2 separate regions of the Homo sapiens genome follow, and region 2 is linked to region 1. Evidence: promoter capture Hi-C in human tissues and cell types (Jung and others, 2019). All regions are on one chromosome and are shown on one strand. Each heading gives the region's core, a stretch centred on a gene start or on the middle of the fragment in contact. The rest is flanking DNA. Distances are from core to core; before and after follow the strand shown. Region 1 holds the start of TIMM8B (translocase of inner mitochondrial membrane 8 homolog B). Region 2 has its middle 29 kb from the start of SIK2.

The links. The method cuts DNA at HindIII sites, captures the fragments that hold promoters and counts their contacts. A contact is called where the count stands out against the background at its distance.
Region 2: a fragment that was not itself captured here is called in contact with the fragment with the promoter of TIMM8B in region 1 in 1 of the 25 tissues and cell types used here (aorta).

Annotation. Positions count from the first base shown.
Region 1 is chr11:112,082,746-112,088,005 of GRCh38, reverse strand. TIMM8B (translocase of inner mitochondrial membrane 8 homolog B) reads left to right here and starts at 1,250. Exons shown (of 2, transcript NM_012459.4): 1 at 1,250-1,366; 2 at 2,544-3,206. The coding sequence starts at 1,283. The coding sequence ends at 2,711. It overlaps SDHD (succinate dehydrogenase complex subunit D), which reads right to left and starts at 1,133. Exons shown (of 4, transcript NM_003002.4): 1 at 1,047-1,133; 2 at 33-149. The coding sequence starts at 1,098. It overlaps NKAPD1 (NKAP domain containing 1), which reads right to left. Exons shown (of 6, transcript NM_018195.4): 6 at 2,856-5,260. The coding sequence ends at 5,034. RefSeq lists enhancers at 1-169, 863-1,132, 496-1,695. The HindIII fragment of the contact is 14,912 bases long and covers 1-4,378 here.
Region 2 is chr11:111,571,301-111,576,560 of GRCh38, reverse strand. No RefSeq gene overlaps it. Among named protein-coding and RNA genes, the nearest start is that of SIK2, 29 kb to the left of the region's middle. The HindIII fragment of the contact is 7,597 bases long and covers 1-5,260 here.

The DNA.
Region 1 (5,260 bases), core at 1-2,500:
CCCAGAAAGCAGCAGCGATGGAGAGAACATACAATGGTGGCTCGGTGACAAGTGTATGTGCTGCACTCCACACCATTCTGGGATAGGTCGGTCCTGAAGAAATGCTGAGATATGAGCAGGTCTGACCACTGGAGTTCGAAGCAACAGAGCTGAGGAAAGAGTCATTAGGATGATCATAAGAACCTCTCCTTTAACAGGACTGACAAACTTTCTAAATGACCATAGGTAAGCTACTTAACAATAAATAGGGGATAACATCTTATTTGTAAAATGAAGATAGCATCTATTTCACTGGGGTTACTGTGAAGTTAAGACCAGGGAACATCTGCATGTTCCCTACTTTATTTAATGACACCTCAGGCATTCTTTAACCTAACTCAGTAATCTGGAAATCATGAGAGACTTTTCCCCTAAATTCAATCGCCAAATCCTATTGGCGTATCTCTTTAACAGTTCTTGAGACAATCTTCTTTTCTTTGTGCTACTTTCCTAGTTCAGGACCTCATCTTGCCCGGACTACTATGACAGTGTTTTCCTCATCAGAATGAAAGCTCGTTGAGGGCGGGAACTACGTTTTCTTCACATTTGTATCCTAGCATTACTACAGTACCTGAGGTAACACAAATGCCCAGGTTAAATGATTTTCGAACTGATCCCCCCTCCACTCCCACATCCAAACACACCAACTCCAGAAGAAATGGGCAAGCTCCTAACCCTCTTTCCCGACTCAGGGTGGGAGCGAGTGGGGAGCATTCTAGGGACAGTGAACGGGGAGAAAACAGAACTGCTATGTGGATTAGCCTCATCAGGACTGCGACTTCCAGAGGGAGCTCTCTTTCTGATTATTCCCTCAACTCGTCAGCTCACAGCAAGTGAAATATACCTTCGGGTAAACATCTGGACCCCTAGACTACAGTGGTCATTGCTGTGATTTCGGTATTTTCTTCTCCTCAAGAGATCTCCCACCCGGCAGATGAGTCCTCACTTCCATCCCCTTCCCTGGCTGGAGGCTACGCTAAGCACCTCAGGGTGGGAAGACCCCTCACCTCGGCCTCCTAGGGCACCGCAAACGGCACTCAGCCTCCAGAGAACCGCCATCTCGTTCCTGAGGGCTCAAGGTCATCCACCAACCCGGAACCACTTAGGCGACAATTCCCACCCACGACGACGAAAGAAAACAGGGAAGAGGAAATGCTGGGTGAACCGGAAGTCGAGAGGCGGTGCACACCCGTCGCGCATGCGCAAACACAGCTGTCGGAAGGTGGCGAGCCTGAGGCGAACAATGGCGGAGCTGGGCGAAGCCGATGAAGCGGAGTTGCAGCGCCTGGTGGCCGCCGAGCAGCAGAAGGCGCAGTTTACTGCACAGGTGCGGGGACGGGGAGGGTGAAGGGAAAGGAAGTTTCACCTTCCTTGGTGGTCCTGGGCACGCTCGGAGGTCTGTACACTGGCGGCTCACTGGTGCTCGATCCCGGCTGCATCCCATTCCCCTCACGAAAGACAAAGTTATGGCTCTCCTGTCCCTGGTGACCGGTAGTGCTCAGGTGCCAGGTATATAAGCGTAGCGTGGAGAAAAGAAAAGGTGTAAAACAGGGAAGATTTGGGCGACGCAAGGGTACGGGAGACTAGTTAGCCGGCGACATGACTGGGCTGGCATTCGAAAGATCTGGGTTCTCATCCTCCCTCTGCTCCTTGCAGGCCACGTGCCCGTAGAAAAGATACTCATCCACTGTGGGTTTTGGTGTCGCCGTCACCCCACTGCCTCACTGGATTGTGAGGATCATATGCGACAATGTATTTGAAAACGACTAGAACATTATCGGAGGAAGGTGGACTCTGAAGTAGTCGCTGTAGACTATGGATGTAGAACAAGGGTTTGGAGCCCTTCGGACATGGTTCTAACGCGGCCTGACTTCTTGCTGGCTACATGACCTTGGACTACATAATCACGCCTCTTAAATGGGAGGTGATGACAGCTATCCTTGAGGACCTTAGAGAGAACTGATTTCTTAGTACCCAGCCTCACAAATAGTAAGCTCTTGGTAAAATGGTTTTTTCCTTTTGGGTGGGAGGAAGAGGGTGCTCGGATGACCAGCAAGAACCCTGGCTAGAAATCTTTGGGCCCTGAACATTCTAATGACAGTGCACATAATTTCTGTGCCTGTATGTGCATTTTTCTGGGGAGTGGATCCATAACCCCCAAAAGGTTAATGGAAGAATTACCTTGTCTAGGGGATAGGTTTGGAATAAAATGAGTGCAATAGTTTGGGAAAATTAATTGGTTCCCTAGTTGGTTCACAATGGTGCTAGCTACTTTGGGGAATATAAAAGGTTATTAGTCCTACCTGAGAATGTACAATCTGTAGGGACGAGGATCTGGATCAATATTGGTGACTAATTAGGAAATGAAGAAAGAGAAGAGCCCAAAGTGACTCCGTGGTTGATTTAAAGAATGGTTTTGTCAGGTGTCAAAAAGTGAGAAGTTAATAAACAAGAGTTAGGCCTATCTGCAGACCCCAATGGTTACTATTTTTCTTTCCTTTTAGGTGCATCACTTCATGGAGTTATGTTGGGATAAATGTGTGGAGAAGCCAGGGAATCGCCTAGACTCTCGCACTGAAAATTGTCTCTCCAGCTGTGTAGACCGCTTCATTGACACCACTCTTGCCATCACCAGTCGGTTTGCCCAGATTGTACAGAAAGGAGGGCAGTAGGCCATCCCCCAGGAGAATGACAGAAGCAAAGGACTTGTTACTAAGCAGATTTAAGGGTCAGTGGGGGAAGGCTATCAACCCATTGTCAGATCAGCATCAGGCTGTTATCAAGTCTGTTGGTGCTAAAAAGTAAAAGATGAAATGTTCAAAGAGTGAAATTTATTTATTTGGAATTCAGAAATTCCAGGTTGTATGACATCAGTTACTCAATAAGTGTGAATTCTCCAACTCTTCTTTTAATCCCATTTTAGAATTTAATATAGAGATCTCTGATTGGCAGGAACACTAGAAATAAATGTTCCATGGCCAGTAGTGCAAATGGGGGATTGTAGGTTTTGAAAAACCACCCTAAGCCATATTAAGGGGGTTGGAAGAACCATCGAAGCCTAAGGCATAGAAGAAAATTTGGGGTTAAGAAAGATGAAGAACAAAAAACAGCTTTATTGCTTATACATGACCAAGAAAAGGAAAACATGGCAAAAAAAAAAAAAAAAAGGCAAGATGTGTATTCCTTGCGAAAGAACAAGCCTGCTAACTTGGGAGGAAGGGAAGGTCAGGACCCAAATAGAGCCAATTTCCTGGAGATGGCCTGTTCTACTGGCACATTTTCCTGAGTCTGTGCTTAAAACCTTTCAGGTACTTTCAGGGCACAGAAACAATGCATGCTAAAAAATATATGGCCAAAGCTCCTTCCAACAAAGATTTAACTTGCTCCAGGAACAAAATAATTGCTTTAGGTTAAGAGGTAGTAATTAGAGACTATTCTTCTCCCTTTAGACCCCCACTAATCCCAAAAATAAAAATACACACCATGGAACACTGACAATTGAGTACCAAAGTATTAAAATTTAAAATAAATATCCCAAAAGGTAGCACCTGCTCATAGTTAAGGGATAGGGCACCTCTGTCCAACCATGTATTTTAAGACCAAGCACTTTATTAGAAATCTGTCCCGTAAAGAGAACAAATTTAGCAGTTAGAACTAAAAATACCAACTCATGGAATGTCATCATAGTTGTATCTACTGCTGGTGTCTTATACTGTCATGCTACTGTGAAGTAATTCCGTATTACACATCAGGAAAGTAAGGCCAGGAAGGTGAACTTACCTGCTCTGGGCCTCCTCATAACCAATGAGTGGCAGAACCAAGACCGAAAGTCTGAGTTTTCAAGCTTTTTACTCAGCCCATTAAGTGACAACCAGGAAAAAATAATACGTCACTTGATCTTTCTTCCCACAGTGAAAAAATGCACTTGCGTTCTGCCAGCCTTCTTTCAGTGATATGTTGGTTTCTTAAGAATTAACATACTAAGGATCACAGTATAGCAAAGGGAATTAATGTGGTCTCTGCTTGGTGCTTTAATCCAAAGGCAGACTGGGAAGAAGTGGATATGTCCCTGAGAAGCCTGTTTCATTTTGGAAATAATTCAACTTAGTTTCAGGGAAAACCTAAACTTCATGAACAGATTTAGAAATGAACAAGACAACATTTAAATGGCAGTTGCTGCCCTGAATCCAGAGTACCATTAGACAACATGATTATTTCCTAATTCTTCCCCATTTGGTACAGGATTATCTATGACAATTGAAGAAATAATTTGAACACAAGTCCATTTAGGCAAATATACAGCAATGGAACTAGAAAACCATTTACTATCCAATTACCATGTTTAGGCATATACTAAGTATAGCTATAGGCCCCATCCAGCAGGGAAATTTGCAAAAACTCTAGTCCCTTCTAATAAGTTGTCTATGGATGTTATCATGAAGGGAAAAGGTTTGTTCTTAGGCCCATGTCCTGATTAAGTAAACCGGACCACACCTGTGGGGTCAAAATATAGAAGGATCAAAGCACCAAGGCTAAAGACAAGTTAGTTGTGACACCTGCTATATAAACAGAGAGCAATACAGTGTTGCCTTGTCATACCATCCTACATGGCATTAGTTCCAATCCACCTCTTGATCCCAGCCCTTGACTTCCCCAAATTCAATATTCCGATTGGTGTACCCAGGTCACTATTGGATCCAGCTTTCTGGGTCCTTTAATTTGCTGTATATGCACTCTACACTAAACGTAATTAATTGCAAAAAAAAATAATCTCTTCAAGAAACCTTCATAACAAAATACCAGATTCCCTTTTAACAAGAAAAGGGGATCAAGCTTAACGCCAAAATAGAAGACAAGACGTCTGTCAGAACATACAGATGGCACAAGACAGCTCTGACCTCAGGCCCCGTGCTGAACAAGAGTCACTGGCAAAACCACAAGGAGTAAGAACTGTAAATATCCACAGTCATGTGGAAAACAAAAGTGTTTCCCATTTAGTCATCCTCTGAGCTCTCAGCAGACCTTTCATCTGTAGCTACTTTCCAATTTGTGCGTTTGTTTGTCCTCTCCTGTATTTCATTGTTGGCTACAGAGGTATGGGCTTTTTTCTCTCTCTTTTTCCTTTTGGTTTTCTTAGTGTCTCTTTCCTCACTTTCCTCAGAACTGCTGGATGCTGAATCATCTGAATGTGAAGTGTTACTTTCTGCCTCTAAGAATAAAG
Region 2 (5,260 bases), core at 1,771-4,270, 510 kb after region 1:
TCTCTGGAAGAAACATCAAGGGGATCATAACCTCAGCAATGGCCTCAAATAGGTTCTTTTAACTATTGACACTAAATGGAACAGATTCATGGACACAGGCTTTCCAGTATAAGCTGACACTGTCACCTGAAGCCCATGGTTGGACTGTGTGACTGAGCATTTCTAGGACCTTTTATTTAGTCTAAAAGCAGATGACTTTGTGATAGTAGGGTTACTTAAACCAAGTTCAGAAAACAAGAATTAATGATGCAGGATGGAAAGAAATTAAGATGAAAATTCACTTGGGGCTAATCTATATTCTGTTTGGCAAATGAGAACAACACCCCTTTTCTTTCTTCTTGATCTATCACTAATTCTCGATTTAATAAACAAACCCTGTACGAAGTGGAACAAAACATTCTTTAAATGGTATCTCATTACAACTGATGTCTCAGAATTCAGAAAAAAAATCTATAAAATATCTTAGGGTATAGATTATAAGTGAATAAATAAGAGAAAAATCTAAGAAAACTGATTCTGAGAAAGAGTGACACACATTGATTGGCTTGTCTGTAAAACTGCATGTAACAGTGGTTATTATTGAAGTGCCATTTGTTGCTTCACTTTATTTTTTATGACCATGTCATTATTTACATAGGGTCAGTACACCTCTGTCTTGGGATATGGTTAGATAAAGAAAATTTGTCACGTTACCATGCAAGAAATGTCACATTTTAAAACAAGTCTGACTTAATGAGGCACGACAAGCTGACTTTAAGAAACAGGGACTGGGCCGGGCGCGGTGGCTCACGCATGTAATCTCAGCACTTTGAGAGGCTGAGGCAGGAGAATGGCTTGAACCCAGGAGGTAGAGGTTGCAGTGAGCCAAAATTGCACCATTGCACTCCAGCCTCAAGAGCAAAACTCCATCCCCCCTCACCCCCCCCCCCCCCAAAAATAAGACACAGGGACTGTACTTGATATGTGGAAATGATGCCCACAACATCCTCCCAGGAAACTTACCTTGTACCTGCTCTCTGGCTAGTGAAATCTCAGCCTTACAGTTAGTAACGAATGCCACTTGCTGACATAGCAGGAACATTGACAGACTTGGGGACCTCAGAGAAGGAAGGACGTCCTAGTTATGTAGTTCTTGAGGAAAAGCGTGGTCCGGGCAAACTGGATGCCTTTTTTCTCCTAGACCTAGAAAGGACAAGCTGATTGAGAACAGCAATTCAAAATCATCTGCGAAACTGATGTGATCAAAATCTGACTAGGGGCTTTGTGAAGCCTCTAGACAGAATTTAATTCTCCAATCCTTCGTATTTTAAGGCTTTAATTTTTAAAACCATACAGCAAAGAAATCTCCTAGTGTTAATCCACACCTTTTGTAGCAACTATATAAATTTAATTGGTCAAAGAGAAAAACCCATCAAGTTAATAATATGGATCAGAACATTTCTGAACAAACCCGTGTAGTCAAATTATCTACACTTCTGGCAGCCCCTGGCCAGAAGGAGGGGCTAAGGAAGCATGAATGATATCTTGCCTTGCTGCTGTCTTCACTTAGCACATTATATAGCAGTCACACACAAAACAAAAAACCCATCCCTGCCCCCGCAAAACCCCAAACACTTGACTTTCTTAAAAATACTAAAACAGGCAGAAACACCCTAACACTTTTCTCTAAATGAAGACCATGCCCTTTTTGTAATCTGCTACCCTAATGCAAACAATTTAATTCCTGATTGAATGGCGTGAACCCAGGAAGCAGAGGTTGCAGTGAGCCGAGACTGCACCACTGCACTCCAGCCTGGGCGACAGAGCGACTCTGTCTCAAAAAAAAAATAAAAAAAAAATTAATTCCTGATTTTGCAATATTAATATCAACATATAGGTGATAACCTTTGCAGATAGTGTAGTCATGTGAGGAACAGACTAACTGTACACTTGGTAACCTCTTGTGTTTTTCTCTAAAAGCCTGCTGTGTTCTTTGTTTAGATAGCCCAGTTGTTCTGAAGTATGATCTGCCTTACAGAATAGTGAAAGTAAAAATTATTTTCTTAATAGTTTTGTGTCTGAGTTCTCCTTTCACAATTGATAGTTGTCAAAGCTGGGTGAACGGTACTTCAGATCCTTTTAATCTTCTCTATAATTTTGTATATGTTCTTAAATTTCCACAATAAAAAATTAAAATTGTATATCAGGGCTATGCTATGTATCAAAGAGATATTGTCAGTGCTTTCCTATAAAGACACAAGACTTAGTCTAATTTTAACTAGTTTCCAAACTTAAAGGCTGTATTGAGGCTGTATTCAGTTTTAAAGCACGTGCAGCTAGTAGACATGACGAACCATCCCAAAGATAGTACTGCAGTTGGCAGCCTAGGAGCAAGGAAAGGTATCTTGTGTGGTTGTGTAGCTGGTGTTTTCTGACCTCACTAGTGAGGTTAGAGTCCTCAATGTTAAGCAGCAATGAAGGGAGCCAGAGTTTCCATGTTATTTGCTGCATTCAGCGTGCATGTCAAAAATAGATCCAAAAGCTATGGCAACTGAAAAATATTTGTTTTAATCAGTGTTTGGGAAACAAATGCTGGTATTTGGCTTCAGGGTTGGCTTCTTCAGCACTGATATTGGCAGATCCAATTCACAATAAAGTCCTACAGCACTTCTGTTTTTTTTTAAAATCCCATATGGACTTAATCTGTAAAACCTCCTGGCACATTTGCACGTTTTGGTTTCCTGGGAGGTTCCCGTGGATTTGTTTAACTCTGGTATCATGATTCTTTACTGTATGTTCCCTTGAAGTATAGGAAGAAAGAACACACTTGTTACATTTTTGTCATTTATATATTTAACAAATATTTATTGATCTCCTGTTGTGTGCAAGGCACTATTCTAGGCATTCTGGAAAGATACAAAAATGAATCAGGCAAATATGGTGATTTCAATTTACTTTCAACCCAATAAGGAAGACAAATTGTGGGCCAGGCATTGAATTAGGTGCTGGGGGTGCAGAGGTGAACAAAGTTCCTGACTTCATGTTGCTCCTTGAAATTAAGACAGATAAATACAGGGGTTAGAGAAGGGCTAATGGAGAAAATAACCCTGAAGCCAAGCTGTAAAAGACAAATTAGAGTTCAGACAAAGCAGAATGGGGCAGAAGGTATACTGTAAGAAAGGGAGCAGCAGATACACATAGGGGTCCTGGGATGGAAAATAGCCTGTATCCAGTTTATTTGAAGATCCAGTTTCTTTGCAGAGTCTTAGAATGGACTGGACTTTGGAGATAGAGTTATAGGAACCAAACTCATAATAGTGGGGTTTTTTTTTTGTTTGGTTTTGTTTTTGAGATGGGAGTTTTGCTCTTGTGGCCCAGGCTGGAGTGTAGCAGTGCAATCTCAGCTCACTACAACCTCCGCCTCCCTGGTTCAAGTGATTCTTCTGCCTCAGCCTCCCAAGTAGCTGGGATTGGAGGCACCCACCACCAAGCCCAGCTAATTTTTGTATTTTAGTAGAGACAGGTTTCACCATGTTGGCCAGGCTGGTCTCTAACTCCTGACCTCAGGTGATCCACCCGCCTTGGCCTCCAAAAGTGCTGGGATTACAGACGTGAGTCACTGCGCCTGGGCTCATAGTGGTGTCTATAATGAAATAAGTATCATGCAGACCAAAGCACCTATGTCCTATTTCCTTTTGTATTGTTAGATCTATGCAAGAAGCTTATTTATGTTTATAACATTGCCTTTGCAATCTTGCATCAGAATTGGGGGCTAGTTGCATGATTCAGAGGTTCCTGGTCTGTGATTGCTGATGCATGCATCTCTGCAATACACAGGGCGCTACCATTGGGAATAGATTGGCTAAAATTTGAGGGCCTTGTCCCTTAAGTAGTGTTGGAGGTACACATTGATTGCCATATTTTTTGTTTTTTTGTGACTCCCTACACTTGAATGTCTCCTTATAACTTTCAGGATTGTATCAGTTAGGGTCTTGTCAGAAAACGGAATTCATTTCGGATGGTTCAGAGGAAGAGAAGAGACTTTAATGAAAGTACCACTTGCAGATATATGGATAGGGTTAAGGAAGCAAACTATGGATGAGTTTGTTAGCAGCAGTAGGAAGCTGTTACCACCCTAGAAGGGGACAAGAAGAAAAAGTAGAGTTACTGGATTATAGTGAGAGCTAGAGAAAGGGCCAACTGGTGGAGACTGAACTGCAGAGGGTGCAACTACTGCTATTGATATGAAAGGAAAGCAGAAGCAATACCATAACCTTTCTTTCACTCCTCCTGCCCACAGCGGACCTGCTGGAGCCTCTCTTGCCCAAATCGTACAGGAAACCATCTGGCAAGGGAGCTGGGTGGTGCAGTCTGCAGGGGTCATCCTGCTAGGGCACAGAGCAGGTCAGAGTAGGATAGAAAATGGATGTGGGCAGGGATTTGGTGAGAGACGGTAAATAACGAATAATCAGCCTGGGCTGAAGTCCAAATTCCTCAGCAAGGCTTATGAATCATTTACTATCAAGCTCCTTGTAGCCCCTTCCGTCTTGTTCCCCCTCACCCTTTGCCACTCACCCACCCAACACTCCCAGCTCAATCATGCTGAACTGTTTGAAATTCTGCTTAGGTGCCACATTCTCACTTTGGGCATCCCCTCCTCCAGGAAGTATCTGCATCCTGGGCTCGCCCATATCCCTATCACAGCCCTATCATCATGTAAGTCATTGATGTTAATCTGGGTTTTTACTATATAACTGCCATGAGGGTAGAAGCTGTATCTTATTCACCATTGCACATACCCACTGTCAAGCACAGTAACTGTCATTTAGCAGGTGCTCAGTACGTATTTGTTGATTCACTGAATAGACACATGAATACCATTTACTCTGCAGCAACTACAGACCTAAGCCAGGCTTCACCTGCGGGTCATGCTCAGATGTCTTGGAGACACTTTTTCAGTTGCAAGTCATTGTCCATGTACAAATGGATTTCCATGGTTAAATTCTCATATGGCCCCTTTATTTCTAGGTCCTAGGGTATTTTCTGCTGTTGTTTCATACCCTTCCTATAAACAAAACATACTGAGAACCACGAGAAAGGCAGGAACAGGCCAAGATCTAAAGGACTTTGGAAGAGGAAAGAGGCTTTAAGGAGGATGTGGCACTTAATTGAGTCTTCACAGATGGGTAGGATGTGTCACATAAAGAAGTGAGGAAAGGACACTCCAGGCTGAAGAAAGAGGACAAGCGGAGACAGCAATGGGAAAATGCATGCTGAGTTT